Linked DNA regions of Homo sapiens: region 1 is linked to region 2. Evidence: promoter capture Hi-C in 16 types of primary human blood cells and fetal thymus (Javierre and others, 2016). All regions are on one chromosome and are shown on one strand. Each heading gives the region's core, a stretch centred on a gene start or on the middle of the fragment in contact. The rest is flanking DNA. Distances are from core to core; before and after follow the strand shown. Region 1 has its middle 130 kb from the start of MIR1252. Region 2 holds the start of PAWR (pro-apoptotic WT1 regulator).

Region 1 (7,161 bases), core at 2,662-5,161, 140 kb before region 2:
AACTTTATGTGGATAGAGAATCAGAAAGACTGTGGTGACAGTTCTGAGTCAAACCTTCACGATTTCCCCTCCTTCCTGTAATGAAATTAGACTCAGGAGAAGTTCCAGGATTTAACAAACCCAGGAATAATAGTCTACATTTCAACACTGAAAAGTTTTCTTACTCTGTTTACCAACTATGGGGACTATGACTAAAATATTATGAGAAATAACTCATGTCTCAAGACTCAGAGCCAAATTAATTTCACATATCTATAATTTGCTACACAAACAACCACTTTCCCAGAGGCCTCTGTTCCTATAGGTCAACAAACACGAGATGACTCCACGATGAGACTCCCAGGCTTCAGACAAGTCCATAGCCTTAGGTAATTATGATCTGAGGTGGTTTTGAAGCTCCTCTTACACACACAGACCCCCCAAACCCATCCCTCCCACCCCCTGCACCCCGCCCCATCTCTGGGCCAAAACTTTCTTTCCAGTGGGTCTGAAAAGTACTGCCTGAAATTCTCAGCATTCCTGTCATTCCCTAAAGGCTGAGGCAGCTCTCTAAACATTCTTTCAGGCACCTGAGGAATTGGGCCACCAGCTCTTCTGTGGGGAGCCAACAGGAAATTAAGTATAAAGGGCAGCAAAAGTATTTGGGGAGATGACAATGAGGCATAAAGGAAACAAAGAAGGGTGGGGGTGCAAGAAAAGAAGCCTGGTCTACCTACACACTTTGCCCTGCAGACAGTTCTACCTCTCAGCACGTGTGATGACTTACCTAGGAATGGAATGTGGACCTGGGAGGGGAAGCTGGTACAAAGCTGTGGAGGCTGGAAAGGAACCCAGGGCCCTATTACAAATCGTGAATAGTGACTTTTAGCTAGAATCACTTGCCAGAAGCTTGGGAAAAAAATGTTTTCACTGAGGGCCTAATTGGATGTCAGAAGGCTTCTACAGAAAGCCTGGCTCCTAGAGCTTCCTAGCTGCTGAGATGGGCTATCCTGGCAAGAATCCTCTCCCTCCTCCTTTCTTTCCCTCTTGCTCCCTTCCTCTTTCCCCTCCTTTTCTCTTTTCCGTACACAATCTGACAGTTTATTTGGGACAATTCTTTGGAGAACTGGGATACACCTGCAGTATATTCATTTTTAAGCCACGGACAAACCACTAGAGGGCGATGCCATCACTAATTGCTGAAACTTTCCTGCTTTCCTCTGGCTTCAGCATTCAGCAGGCCTATCCACACATCCTGTGACAGGATGTTTCTGAACTTTTCCTTCAATTCTCATTGTAAATAAACAACCTCAGGGTGAATACATCCAGATGCACATCATAGCGACATGCAGCATGAATTGCACAGGCCAAAGTTTCTGGTCTATCCGGAACAGTCTTGCCTAATATGCACCACAGTTCAGAAACCAGAGGTTAAACTTGCTTTTTTGTCCTGAATTTCTGCCTGAATTTTGGAGTTTCTCTCAAATGCTATCTCTAAGGGCAAAAGGAGCCCTTCAAAGAAATGAAAAGTTAAATAATCCAGCACAGCCCATTTGTACAGGATTTCTGTTTTGTTTCCATATTCAAGTTACAAATATTTGGTTTGCTTAAATGCAGGGTTTGCCCAAATGGTCAAAAGCTATTAGTAGATTAGTCATGTATGCAAATATGGGGAGCAGGGGCACATGTTTCTCACTGCTTGAGAAACTATGTGTATAAACGGGGTCCCAGTAAATTTGGTCCTAGCCGGGGCGTACCAAAGAAAGCAAAGCTAGCAGGGGTAGTGGCTAATGTCTGTAATCCCAACACTTTGGGAAGTTAAGGCAGGAGGATCACTTGAGGCTGGGAGTTCAAGGTTTGCCTGGGCAACATAGCAAGACCCCATCTCTAAAAAAATAAAAATAGTCAGGTATGTACTATTATACAGGTGTGCACCTGTAGTCCCAGCTCCTCAGGAGGCTGGGGTGGGAGGATCCTTTGAGCCCAGGAGTTTGAGGCTGCAGTAGCTGTGATCACACCACTGCACTCTAGCCTGGGTGACAAAGCAAGACTCTGTCTGAAAAAAAAAGGGAAGAGAAAGAAAGAGAAAGAAAGAAGGAAAGAAAGAAAGAAAAAGAAAGAGAGATAGAGAAAAGAAAAGAAAAAAGAAAAGAAGGCTGCTAGAAATCTTAAACTCGGCTGGGTGCAGTGGCTCATGCCTGTAATCCCAGCGCTTTGGGAGGCCGAGACGGGTGGATCACCTGAGGTCAGGGGTTGGAGAGCAGCCTGGCCAACATGGTGAAACTAGTCTCTACTAAAAATACAAAAATTAGCCAGGCATGGTGGCGGGAGCCTGTAATCCCAGCTGAGGCAGGAGAGGAGGCTGAGTCAGGAGAATCGCTTGAACCCGGGAGGTGGAGGTTGCAGTGAGCTGAGATCGTGCCACTGCACTCCAGCCTGGGAGACAGAGTGAGACTCCTTCTCAAAAAAAAGAAAAAAAAAAAAAAAGAAATCTTAGAACTCCTTGAACTTTTTGGGCAGAATCTCCCTTCCTATGAGTTCAACTAGTGTTCCTAGGCATACACTCTGCCTCCTGTATAGGGGCAGACTAGCATCAGACTTCTCTGAGATTAGTATTTCAAGAATTTATGCAAACTAACCTATTGAAGTTAGACTGAAGATCTGGGTAAAAATGTAAATCAGAAAGTATTCAATAAATCAGGTAAAGCACATAACAGGCAATTCATGTACTGGAATACTGCTGCCTCCAGCACTGGTGGTGTACTTCTTCAAGTACAGTACTTCTTCAAATATTTGCTGATGTCAAGCTTATCCTCCATTTATCAGCAGAGGCAGATAAGGTGAGGAAAATATTTGTAGGCAGAGAGATTTCTGGAATTTTCCTACAGTGCTGAAATACCATCCAGAGTTCAAGTGGGCCATATTTGGACAATGATTACTATGTTATTTTTTCTATCGTATTTTCACTGCTATATAATAACATTAACACTCTTTACACAAGGTCAGTACTATTTACCTAAGACTTTCCCAAATCTTTCCCATTCTCTCCCCTCAAAAGTTCATGAACACATTCTATGTTTCTGAAGGAAAAAATATAATAGAGGAAAAGTTTATTGAGATTAGTCAAGTGGGGATTGTAATTCACCAAATCTGCATTTACTAGAAGGAAGATAGAGCAGAAAACTAGTCCCAGGGTTTAAAGACTACAATTCATAGAAGACTCCTATTGTTGGGCCAACACTGTATTTCACAGCAGGTGAAGAGAGAAAAAGTACAGGAAAACAAACAAGGATGGAAGTATGGTACAGGAGGGTGCACAGTGAATAGAAGAAAATGCTATGGAAGACTACTCCTCACCGAGCAAAACCCGACTAGGTGGAACGTGGACTGAAGGTGGAGATGAATTCAAGAGTTTTACGGAGGGCACCTGTCACCTAATCACAGCGCCAACGACGCTACCAAGAAAGCATCATGGCCTTTTCTTTTACAGGCACTTTGTTTACAGGACAAATCAAGGAAATCAAGGAAAAGGCATCTTTTCTCTTCCAGATCACTTTTAGAATCCAAGATTTGGTACACTGGGACAAATAAAAACACATAGCTATGAAAGGGTCGATGAGATCCCATTTGTAACTTGGCTAAATAGAGTTGTTTCAGTACCTGACAACTTGAGTTCAATCTGTATTATTCTGAATGTATAATTGATGTGGCCATCAGTTTCCAGTAAAGGAACTTTTGTTTTGCTTTTTTCCCCCCACTTTCCCTCAGAAGGAATGGCTTTCTCATTAGGAAATGTTCGCATGCCCTCAGAAAAGGTGTTTGGAATAGAAAGACTCCCCGGAATCAGATTAAAATGCCAGCAGAGTTGAGTATGTTCTTCCCCATTTTGAGCTAGTTAAATGAGAACTCACGCCATTCTCCACACAGGGAACTTCTTAGGTAAAACTATTAAAGCCATGGAACCATTTACTTAGTGTGGTTATTAAAATCCTATGGCACTCTGGTGAACAGTGCTGTGGACTGGCAGCCAGAATATCTTTTCCAATTCTAGCCCCTATATTTCCTGGATTTATAGAAGCAAAGCAACTAGGAAAGCTGTAGGTCTTCTCACCCATTTTGTAGATATTTGTTGAGTACCCAATGTTTTAGGCACTGGAGTACAATAATAAACCAGATCTAGCACAGTCCTTGCCTTCACAGTTCAGAGTCATGAAGGAAACAAACCAGTAAAAAGGCAATTGTAACGTCATACCCATTAGCATGGCCATGATAAAAGAGAGAGAGAGAGGAGGAAAAAAAGGAAAGAAAGAAGTGTTGGTGAGGACACTAAACAATCAGAACCCTCATACAGTGTTGGTGTCAATGTAAAATGATGCGGCTACTCTAGAAAAGTCCTCCAAAAGCTCAATACAGAATCAGAATAACCATACAATGTAGCAGTGTCACTGCTAGGTACATACTCAAGACCATTGAAAACATGGCCATACAAAAACTTGTACACAAATGTTAATAGAAGCATTATTTATTAATACTCAAAAAGTGGAAACAATCCAAATGTCCATCAGCTGACGAATGGATATACAAAATGTGGTACATACATACAATGGAATATTTCAACCATAAAATGAAATGAAGTACTGATACATAATACAACATGGATGAACCTTAGAAACATATTTAGTGCAAGAAGACAGACACAAAGGGACAAATATGGTATGATTCTATTCACATAAAATGTCCAGACTAGGGAAATAAATAGAGATAAAAAGTAGATTAATAATTGTCAGGGGATTGGGGGAAGGGGAAACACGGAGTGGCTGTCAATGGGTGTGTATGTGGGTTCTTTTAGGAGTGATGAAAATGTTCTCAAATTATATAGTGATTGCATAACCTTGTAAATATATTAAAAACCACTGAATTGTACAATTTAAAAGAGTGACTTTTATGTTATGTAAATTATATCAATAAGACAAGGTAATTATAATACAATAAGATGATGGCCATATTAGAGCGTGCTAGTCTACATGTGTGGGGGTAGTGTTGGAGAAGAGGTTCAGAAAAGCTTTCTGAAAAAAATGACTTTTAAGCAGTGATCACAGAAGACAAGTAGGAGTAAGAAGGAAAAGGAGGAAGAATGGATCAATGTTAAAGGAACAGCAGAATATGCCCACGGCAGAGGGGAGAGAGCACATGGTACATTTGGAGGAATAGTGGTCCTGCTGGGCTGAAACATGGTGTTCACAGTGGAGAGAAGTAAGGCTAGGGATAGAAGGAGCAAACCAACCATGCTAAAGAATTTCTACTTTATCCTAATTATAACAGGAAACCCTTGAAAGAGCTAAAGCACAGGAATGACAAGATCTGGTCTGTTCTTCGGAAAGGTTGTTCTAAGTGCAACGCGAAGAACAGACTGGAGGTAAAGCAAGCATAGGGGCCAAGAGATTGGTTAGGAGGTTATTGCACTAACGCAAGTCTGAACTGACCAAATAGGGAAAATTGGAAGGTACCGGGGAAGTTCTTCCAAGCTCCCTGTAATGCTCTGCCAACTATAACAGTACTAGGCTCTGCCAGGAAGCAAGATGTGGTTTTAGTAAGGAGGTGGTGCCAATGCTAAGGCTGCTAGCGAGTCTTCCAGCAGACTCTACTCCTGCTTTTGGCCCAAACTTTATACTCAATCTCTAGACTTGGGCTCCCTTTTCCCTCCACAATGAACATAAAGATCCTCACCATGTGCAACAGAGAGATAGTCTACTGTAAGAGTATGGATTTGAGTCAGAAGCACCTAAGTTCAAATTCCTGCCCTGCCATTTCCAAGCTTATGTGATAAGATATACTTAACCTCTGATCTCAGTTTTTTGAATGTGAAATTAGGAAGATAGTAACATATCTCAGTTTTGTGCTAAGGATTATATGTGATTACAGATGTAAAAAAGCCTTGCACCAGGCCTGCCCTTTAGTAGGTGCTCAATAAATGTAGTCTCTGTACTCTTTGCATCACAATCCTATAGTTACAATTGTGTTCCTAATTGGTGGGTTCTTGGTCTCGCTGACTTCAAGAATGAAGCCGCGGACCCTCGTGGTAAGTGTTACAGTTCTTAAAGATGGCGTGTCCGGAGTTTGTTCCTTCTGATGTTCGGACATGTCTGGAGTTTCTTCCTTCTGGTGGGTTCGTGGTCTCGCTGGCTTCAGGAGTGAAGCTGCAGACCTTCACGGTGAGTGTTACAGCTCTTAAGGCGGTCCGTCTAGAGTTGTTCGTTCCTCTCGTTTGGAGTTGTTCATTCCTCCCGGTGCGTTCATCGTCTTGCTGGCCTCCTGCAGACCTTCACGGTGAGTGTTAGAGCTCATAACGGCAGTGCAGACCCAAAGAGTGAGCAGCAACAAGATTTATTGCCAAGAGCAAAAGAACAAAACTTCCACAGTGTGGAAAGGGTCCGGACTGAGTTGCCCCTGCTGGCTGGGGCAGCCAGCTTTTATTGCCTTATTTGGCCCCACCCACATCCTGCTGATTGGTCCATTTTACAGAGAGCTGATTGGTCTGTTTTGACAGGGTGCTGATTGGTGCGTTTACAATCCCTGAGCCAGACAGAGTGCTGATTGGTGTATTTACAATCCTCTAGCTAGATGTAAAAGTTCTCCAAGTTCCCACTAGATTAGCTAGACACAGATCACTGATTGGTGCATTTACAAACCTTGAGCTAGACACAGGGTGCTGACTGGTGCGTTTACAATCCCTGAGCTAGACACAGAGTGCTGACTGGTGCATTTACAATACTCTAGCTCGACATATAAGTTCTCCAAGTCCCCACCAGATTAGCTAGATACAGAGTGCTGATTGGTGCATCCACAAACCTTGAGCTAGACACAGGGTGCTGATTGGTGTATTTACAAACCTTGAGCCAGACACAAAGTGCTGATTGGTGCATTTACAATCCTCAAGCTAGACCTAAAAGTTCTCCAAGTCCCCACCAGATTAGCTAGGTACAGAGTGCTGATTGGTGCATCCATGAACCCCGAGCTAGACACAGAGTGCTGATTGGTGCATATACAATCCTCCAGCTAGACATAAAAGTTCTCCAAGTCCCCATCCGACTCAGGAGCCCAGCTGGCTTCGCCTAGTGGATCCTGCACCAGGGCCACAGGTGGAGATGCCTGCCAGTCCCGCGCCACACACCTGCACTCCTC
Region 2 (7,049 bases), core at 3,781-6,280:
TTTCTATGTGATCTTGAATCATTTAAGCTCTAAGTCTTCATTTTCTCCTCTGGAAATAGTGATAAACAGTGTAACTACCACATGAGATTGCTGTGAACTTCAGTACATAAAGCACTTTAGCCAACCACTAAAGCTAAACCACTTTAGCCAACCACTATTTTAAAACAGAAGTTTTAAATACTGTATATGTTAACTTTTATACTTAAACCAAAACTTCAGTGCCACCTCTACCTATTCAAAGATTACATTTTCTATGGCACCCATCTCCATTAACCCATTCACACAACCCTACTCAATGGCAGTAACTTCACAAACCCCCTGGAAACAAGTATGTAACTGTCTAGGAAGCTTTCTTCAACTATCACTCCTCCTCCCTGGGTTAGGTACCCTGCTCAGGCACTAAGCTATACTTACTACTCTACTTTTCACATTTCCTTATATTACCTGAGAGCACCTCGTGGGCAAGGCTTATGTCCTATTCATTTCTATACCCAGACTGCAGTCCAACAGTTGTTATCACTGACTCACATTTGAATCAAATGGGGAACTTATAAAAATATTAATGCCTGGGATCCATCCCAGACCCATTCAATATTACAGGGTGGGGTGAAGGGACAAAGAGGGCACGGAATTGAATTAGCATGAGCAAACATTTTTTTAAAGATCCTAACATGCTATCAATGTGCTGCTCAAGTTAAGAACCACTGCATGTCGGTACTTAATATACTATACAAACAATTATGTATACATGTACATATGTGAGAACATATGTAAAAATATACAAGTACTGAAAAGTTTAAGACTCAGGTCAAGATTCTCATCCTCAATAGCTTCTCCCAGCCCAATCATCTCCCCCTTTTAAACACACACTATTTCCAATAAATAGTTACATGCTTCATTAAGATGGCTTTTAAACTGTTAACTCAGTACTTAAATTTTTTCATGTAATTATGCCTTATCCTTCTTCCTAGATTATAGCCTTGCTCCTTGAGAATATACACTGCCGTGTTCTTATTTTCTCCACTGCTTAAGGATAGTGTCTTTAACAGGTATGTAATACACATTTGACTGATCTGATAAACACACACAAAAATTACTGGCAAGAAGTATGCCACGTCCAAATTACCCAGTTCAGGTGAATTACTACCAAAAAATAGAAAATGTAAAAATTTAGAAAAAAGGATATTTTTCTTAAAACTCTTAGTAAATTTTATCTCATTAAAGAAGCTCTGGATAGATCGACTTCAGCCATCACATGCAGTAACCACCCAGTTTCCTACCTCCCAAATAGCTAGTTTCGGTTTTTGACCTGGTTCCTTGCCTATAACTATCTTCTAGTCAATTCTGGTATCTTTAGCTGCTGTCAGATACCTTTATAACAGTATTATATATACACTCTATAACTAGTAAAGTGAGGTAATGAAAGTCACAATAAATGTATCACACAGATGTTTCATAAGTACTTCCTTGAAGGAACTTAATGTTTATCCACCATTAAAACCAGATCTCTACATATGAACTACATGTTAATCTACTAATACAGACTTGGTTGGGAATCATGTCTGAAAATAAGAGTCTTACTCGACATTAGATAAAATAAAGTCTACTTTTGAATATAAAGAGATTGGTCATTTTCATCTTTTTACTTATTTTCATACCCGAAAAATTTGCAAAATATGTATGACTTTTTAAAACAGGGGTGCTAAATTAAATATTACACAAGAAACTCCACAGCAACTGGTATTCTCAATGTTGAAACTACCAGGAGAAATGGCACAATTCTAAAAAAGCAACAATATAAACACATGAAAATGGCTCAGCTTTAAAGTTTTGCATCATATATTTTACCACTATTAAAATAATCTGAAATACATAAGTTGTTTTGAAAAATAAGAAAATATGAGGAGGAGGCGCTCAAGAAGTATGTCTGTTAATTAGATACTGTAGTGAAGCATTACTGTTTTGTTGGGTCCTGCAGCTTGAAACGGACAGAGACATAGTTACCACTAAAAGAAAGCAGTCCTCAATTCCCTATTCAATAAAAAGGTTCAAACTCTACAGACAAAAAAAAAGGTACCCTTGGTTTGTTTGTTTTCAGGGAAGATTAAATTTAGGAGTTGCCAACACCCAAACGAAAAACATTCCAGAGTATTAGACTCCATTGTAGTGGGAAGTCATCTACATTCTCAGCACTATGTTCTCTTACTCAAAGCAGGGGTATTAACAAAAGATGTTTCTTAGGATCTCACAAGATACACTCTACTTACTTCCCCCAGTAAACATTACCCTTGTTTAAAAAAAAAAAAAGTACTTGAAAAATAATTTTAGCACATGCAGCCAGAAAAAAAGTGAAGTTTAACATCTGCCAAGATATTTCCCAAAATAAGACCGCTGTCAGATGAACAATGAGGAAAAGATTGAAAATGACAAATTCTTTTATTTGGATCATCAGCTACTTTTAAAAATCAAGTTGAGGAATGTAGCTTTTCCAAAGCCTTGTCTTCAATTTCCCCTTAATCTTCATATTTTTAACTAAAAAAAAAAAAAAAAAAAACACCTAGAAATTTGATTACCACTCTTACGAATTCCTTCTAAAGCAATTTAATGAATAACAGATCTTTTGTGCAAGTAGCAAACCGCAGAGGACAGTTTTGCTGGCTGATAAAAATCTCTGAAACGCTCATATAAATACGTCCTACAAAGACACACTATGATTTAACAGGTATGGAAATCATAATACTAAAAATTTAGGTATATTTAATATACACCCTAACTTATTGCAAATGCTTCTACTTAAACCACAATTAAAGTTGAGTAAAATTAGAAAGCCAGGAGAAGAAAAAGTGAAAGCTAAACAGTCAATGAGAAAAAGATGCAACTATTTTAGGTGAAACAAGGTAGTTGAACCACTTCCTCAAATCCATGAGCTACTATCAAAGTAATCAAAACTTGTTTGAGATTGTTTTGTCTTGTTTCTGGTAGAGGGAGGTGTGATTATACACTTAGTAAAAATGTTTTACCAGTCACTCTAATGGAAGATGCTGCTACCTGTAACGTTTCGAAAATGCTCCAAACTGCAAACAACCCAAAACAAACAAAAACCCTACCACATGTTTTTCAGACACAGTACTCAAAAAGAGATCGTCTTAGCGAACAGAATTGTGGGTTACTAAATCATCCCTATTGTCCTAAGTATCACTCAGAAAAACACTGTGTGTTTAGGAGCACAACTTATAAACAGCTGATTTATATATAAAATAGTGCACGTATTCATTTGGATATACTCATCTTGAGCTCACTGTAAGATAAAGCTGTCTTGGATATTGCTAAGGCAACATTTTCTTTACAGATGTTATTAAACATTGGTAAGAAAGGAGAAATAAACTGGTAACTTCACATGGGCACGTGAGACCCTAGAGAATGTCGTCACCATTAATCAATTTTTCTAACTGATCAAGCATAAACAGCCAAGTCCAGGTGGCCAAGTCAGCCAAGTCCAGGTGGGCAAGTCCTGGAGCCATAAGTTGTCTTTCTACCACGGTAAAAAAGGATCCTGGATCTGAGACCTGGCCAGGAAGCCTGAAAAGCACGTGTCCTACTCTGAGTTTGGGGAACTTCCCAGGAAGCATTTGTTCAGAGTAAAACTCCATCACCCCCTGCCTGCCTAACTCGGTGAAGGGACAAGTACGAGCCAGGGGAGGTAAACTCTGCGCCCCGGGTAGCTCCCAGGAGGAAGACACCGGGAGGCAGCTGCCCGCCCCGGCCCGGTCCGGCTGCGGCCCCCGCCCGGCTCACCTCTGCGGCAGGGATGTTGACCACGCCGGTGGAGCGCCGCTTCTCCCGCAGCTTCCTCTTCTCGATCTGCCCCTTGCCTTTCCTGGCACTGGGGCCCGAGCTCTTGCCCTTCTCTGGGACGCCGTCCGGCTCCTCCTCGTCACGCTGGGGCGGCGGTGCAGCCGAGGCAGAGGCGGCTGGGGGCTCGTCCTCCGACCGCCGCGGGCCGGGGGCCGCCCGCGTCAGCATGGCGGAGCCGACCGCGCAGTTCACGCCCCCGGGACCGGGGACGGCAGGTGCGGCCGGCGCGCCGCCCGGGAGGTTGTTGTTGAGCTCGTTGGCAGCGGCGGCCGCCGGGGTGCCCAGAGCCCCCGCGGGGGGCTTCCCAGCGGCGTCGCTGCTGCCCCCTCCCGGGGGGGCCGGGCCCGGGGGGTTCTGCTTGGCGCGCATCTTCTCGCGTTTCGCCTTCCACTCCTCCAGGAAGTCTGTGGTGCTGCCGCCGAGGCCGCTGCTGGTCCGGTAGCCACCGGTCGCCATATTCCCAAAGGGGCCGGTCGGGCTCTCACCTCAGGCCGCCCACCAGGGCTCCGGCCGCTGCCTCCTCTTCCTTCCTGCGGCCCCGAGGATGCCAGGAGACGACCTCCAGGAGAGGGACGGCCGCCGCTCCCACAGCAGCCGGCGGGGCTGAGGTGAAAGACAAAAGGGGGCGGGTAAGGGAAGCGTAAGATCCCCGCCCGACCCAAGGGTCTGCCCCCGGGCTGCGCCCCTTGGAGTCCTCGAGCGCGCCCACCAGTCACTACCGGCCAGCAGCCGCCGGGTCCCCACCCTGCAAAGTTTCTCCCACGCACCTACAGTACGGACCCCGACGATCGCCGCCCCTAGAAGGGAGGAGAGAGGACTGACCCCACCCCCAAGTCGGCCCGCCCGCCCCATCCCCACCAAGGTCCGCGCCGGCGGCGGTCGAGATACTAGGGCTAGACCCGCCACCTGTCGGCTCGTCGTATCGCCTGCTCCGCGCTCTAGCCACCGCCGGTCCGAGGTCCCCGTCAGCTACAACCCCACTCCCAAGGCGAGGCGCGGAGCTCCTAGCCGGTTCGCAGAGGAGGCGGGGACCCAGCTGTCCCGCCGAGCGTGGAAAGGACCGGGTGTGAGCGAGCGCCTTACCTTGGAGGAGCTTGTAGGGGACGAGGCGTAGGGCTGGGATCCGGCTCCCAGGTGTGCCGAAGCTGGCGCGCGCTCTTCCGCCGCGCGGAAAGTGCCGCGGCAAACTCGCGGTGCGGAGCTCCAGGCAATCCCAGGACAGGAGGGAGGGAGAAGAAGGAGGGAGGGAGGGAGGGAGGGAGCCAGGGGCGGGAAGGGAGCCGAGCGGCGCCGAAGCACGAGCGGAAAAGGCCGAGGCGGCGCGCGAGGGGCGCGGCGCGCGGTGGGAAGGGTCGTGGCCGCTGACGCCCCGCCCCCGGCGCTCAGGTGCGCGGCGTCGCGTCCGGCCCGCCGCTGCAGCCTGCCCTGCGCCAGCCGTCCTCTGCCCCGCTCCCGCCGCAGACCACAGCGCGCCCGCCGCGCTCCGCCCGCGGCCTGCGAGTTAGACGGCACATTCCTGGGCTAGCAGCTTCGCGGCGTCCGGCCTCCCGGCGCCTCCGACTCCGGGGCGGGAACGGCACTCCACGCCCTTCTTGCTTGTCTTCTCCGCCTCTCTCTTCTCCCACCACTCTTCCTTTTAAGTACAAGACCGTATTATTTGAGAGAAAGTCTCGAACGCTGCTGGCTAAGGGGAAAAGTGCGATAACTTGTGATGATTCAGGGAATGACTAGACAGGATGGGAAAATACCCACGTGTCTCTTTTCCTAGTCGCTGCTCCCTTTTCAGATGTACTAGGGCAGCGGGCAGGAGAATAGAAAGACCTGAGACAAACCCAGCACCCTCCTTCTAAGAAAACTGCGGTGCCCTGGTGAAAAGGGTTGGCTAAGAGGAAGGACTTACTAGTATCTTAGGGTTGCGGGAGAAAAAACTCAGTTCGACAGTTTATTGTATTGGCGATTCCAGTCTTGGAGTTTTCCCCTTAACCCTGTCTCTGCCTCTCCTCTTTACAGAGAATGAATTTAGCAGCAAAGCTCCCTACCAAAGTACTAACGCTGCACTGATGCTAATTTGAGATGAGCTGGGGCAGTGATTGTCTCTATTTTTTCATTATTAACATGCCAGAGGCTTATCCTCTGATGCAAGTCATCTGAAATTTCTGGATCAGAGCGGGGTGGGCTGTCACTGACGCACCTAAGACTGACCTTTCTATATCCAAGTAATGTCAGGGCACATCATTGTGGGAGGCTACAAATGCCAGGTCTCCATTTTGTAAAAAAGTAGGAGAGCCCTAAGTCACGCTCTTACCTAACATAAACCTTTCTTCCTACTTAATATTCCTGTTTTGCCCAGGTAGCACATGATGAGTGAGCAATCAGTGTTTGCCTGCCACAGAACTGGGAACAGAAGAAAGTGATTCACATGCTCTATATTTCTCAGGGAAAGACAGTTTTGGTCTTTGGTCTGGCTGTTGTGGGAAACGTATGGCGAGAGCTCTGGAAAAATCCTTAGAAAATTAAAAGCTTTTGTTGGGAATAGGTCTAAAAGGCTGAGCGGCTGTTTACCTAAGCTAGTACCAACCCCAGTGTGCCACCTGAAGTTTCTCAATTACATATTCATTAGTTTGTTTTCTGAGTTTTAAGGAGAGTAAGGGAGGCTGGGACATTAAACGTATTCACATTCATATGCTTTGTAACTTATCAGAGGACTTTTCTCCTGGAAGGGCTGCAGGATATAGTGGAAAGAGGGTATAGTCAGCTAGCTGAGAGATCTTGGGCATGTTTACATTATCTGGTACTCAGCTTTCTGTACTATAAAATCAGCAAAAATTACATTTTTTTTTTTTTTGAGGCGGAGTCTCGCTCTGTCGCCAGGCTGGAGTGCAGTGGCGGGATCTCAGCTCACTGCAACCTCCGCCTCCTGAGTTCAAGCAATTCTCCTGCTCTCAGCCTCCCAATTACATTATATTTAAGCTGTCTTAAGAACTGACACTGCACATAAAATGTGCTTGATTCGAGGAAGGCACTCAGTAAACATAGTCCCTTCTAGGGGCTTAAAGTCCTTGGTCTCTAAGAAGTGTATGGGAGAAGAGGAAATTATAACAGATGGGGTATTGAATATACAATATCAGCCTAAAAACGATAGACTTTGAATGAACTAGGATAACACCCCACATAAATTTATCACTGCATGGCTT

Evidence for each region. The method cuts DNA at HindIII sites, captures the fragments that hold promoters and counts their contacts. A CHiCAGO score of 5 or more calls a contact.
Region 1: a contact is called between a fragment that was not itself captured here and the fragment with the promoter of PAWR in region 2, in 4 of 17 cell types (total B cells, megakaryocytes, naive B cells and 1 more). The highest score is 13.7, in total B cells.

The regions. Positions count from the first base shown.
Region 1 is chr12:79,546,877-79,554,037 of GRCh38, forward strand. No RefSeq gene overlaps it. Among named protein-coding and RNA genes, the nearest start is that of MIR1252, 130 kb to the left of the region's middle. RefSeq lists enhancers at 402-1,130, 573-867 and a silencer at 573-867. The HindIII fragment of the contact is 2,255 bases long and covers 2,785-5,039 here.
Region 2 is chr12:79,685,934-79,692,982 of GRCh38, forward strand. It overlaps PAWR (pro-apoptotic WT1 regulator), which reads right to left and starts at 5,031. Exons shown (of 7, transcript NM_002583.4): 1 at 4,939-5,031; 2 at 3,796-4,458. The coding sequence starts at 4,311. It overlaps PPP1R12A-AS2 (PPP1R12A antisense RNA 2), which reads left to right and starts at 4,099. Exons shown (of 7, transcript NR_187531.1): 1 at 4,099-4,463. RefSeq lists silencers at 3,739-4,258, 5,029-5,328. The HindIII fragment of the contact is 6,027 bases long and covers 347-6,373 here.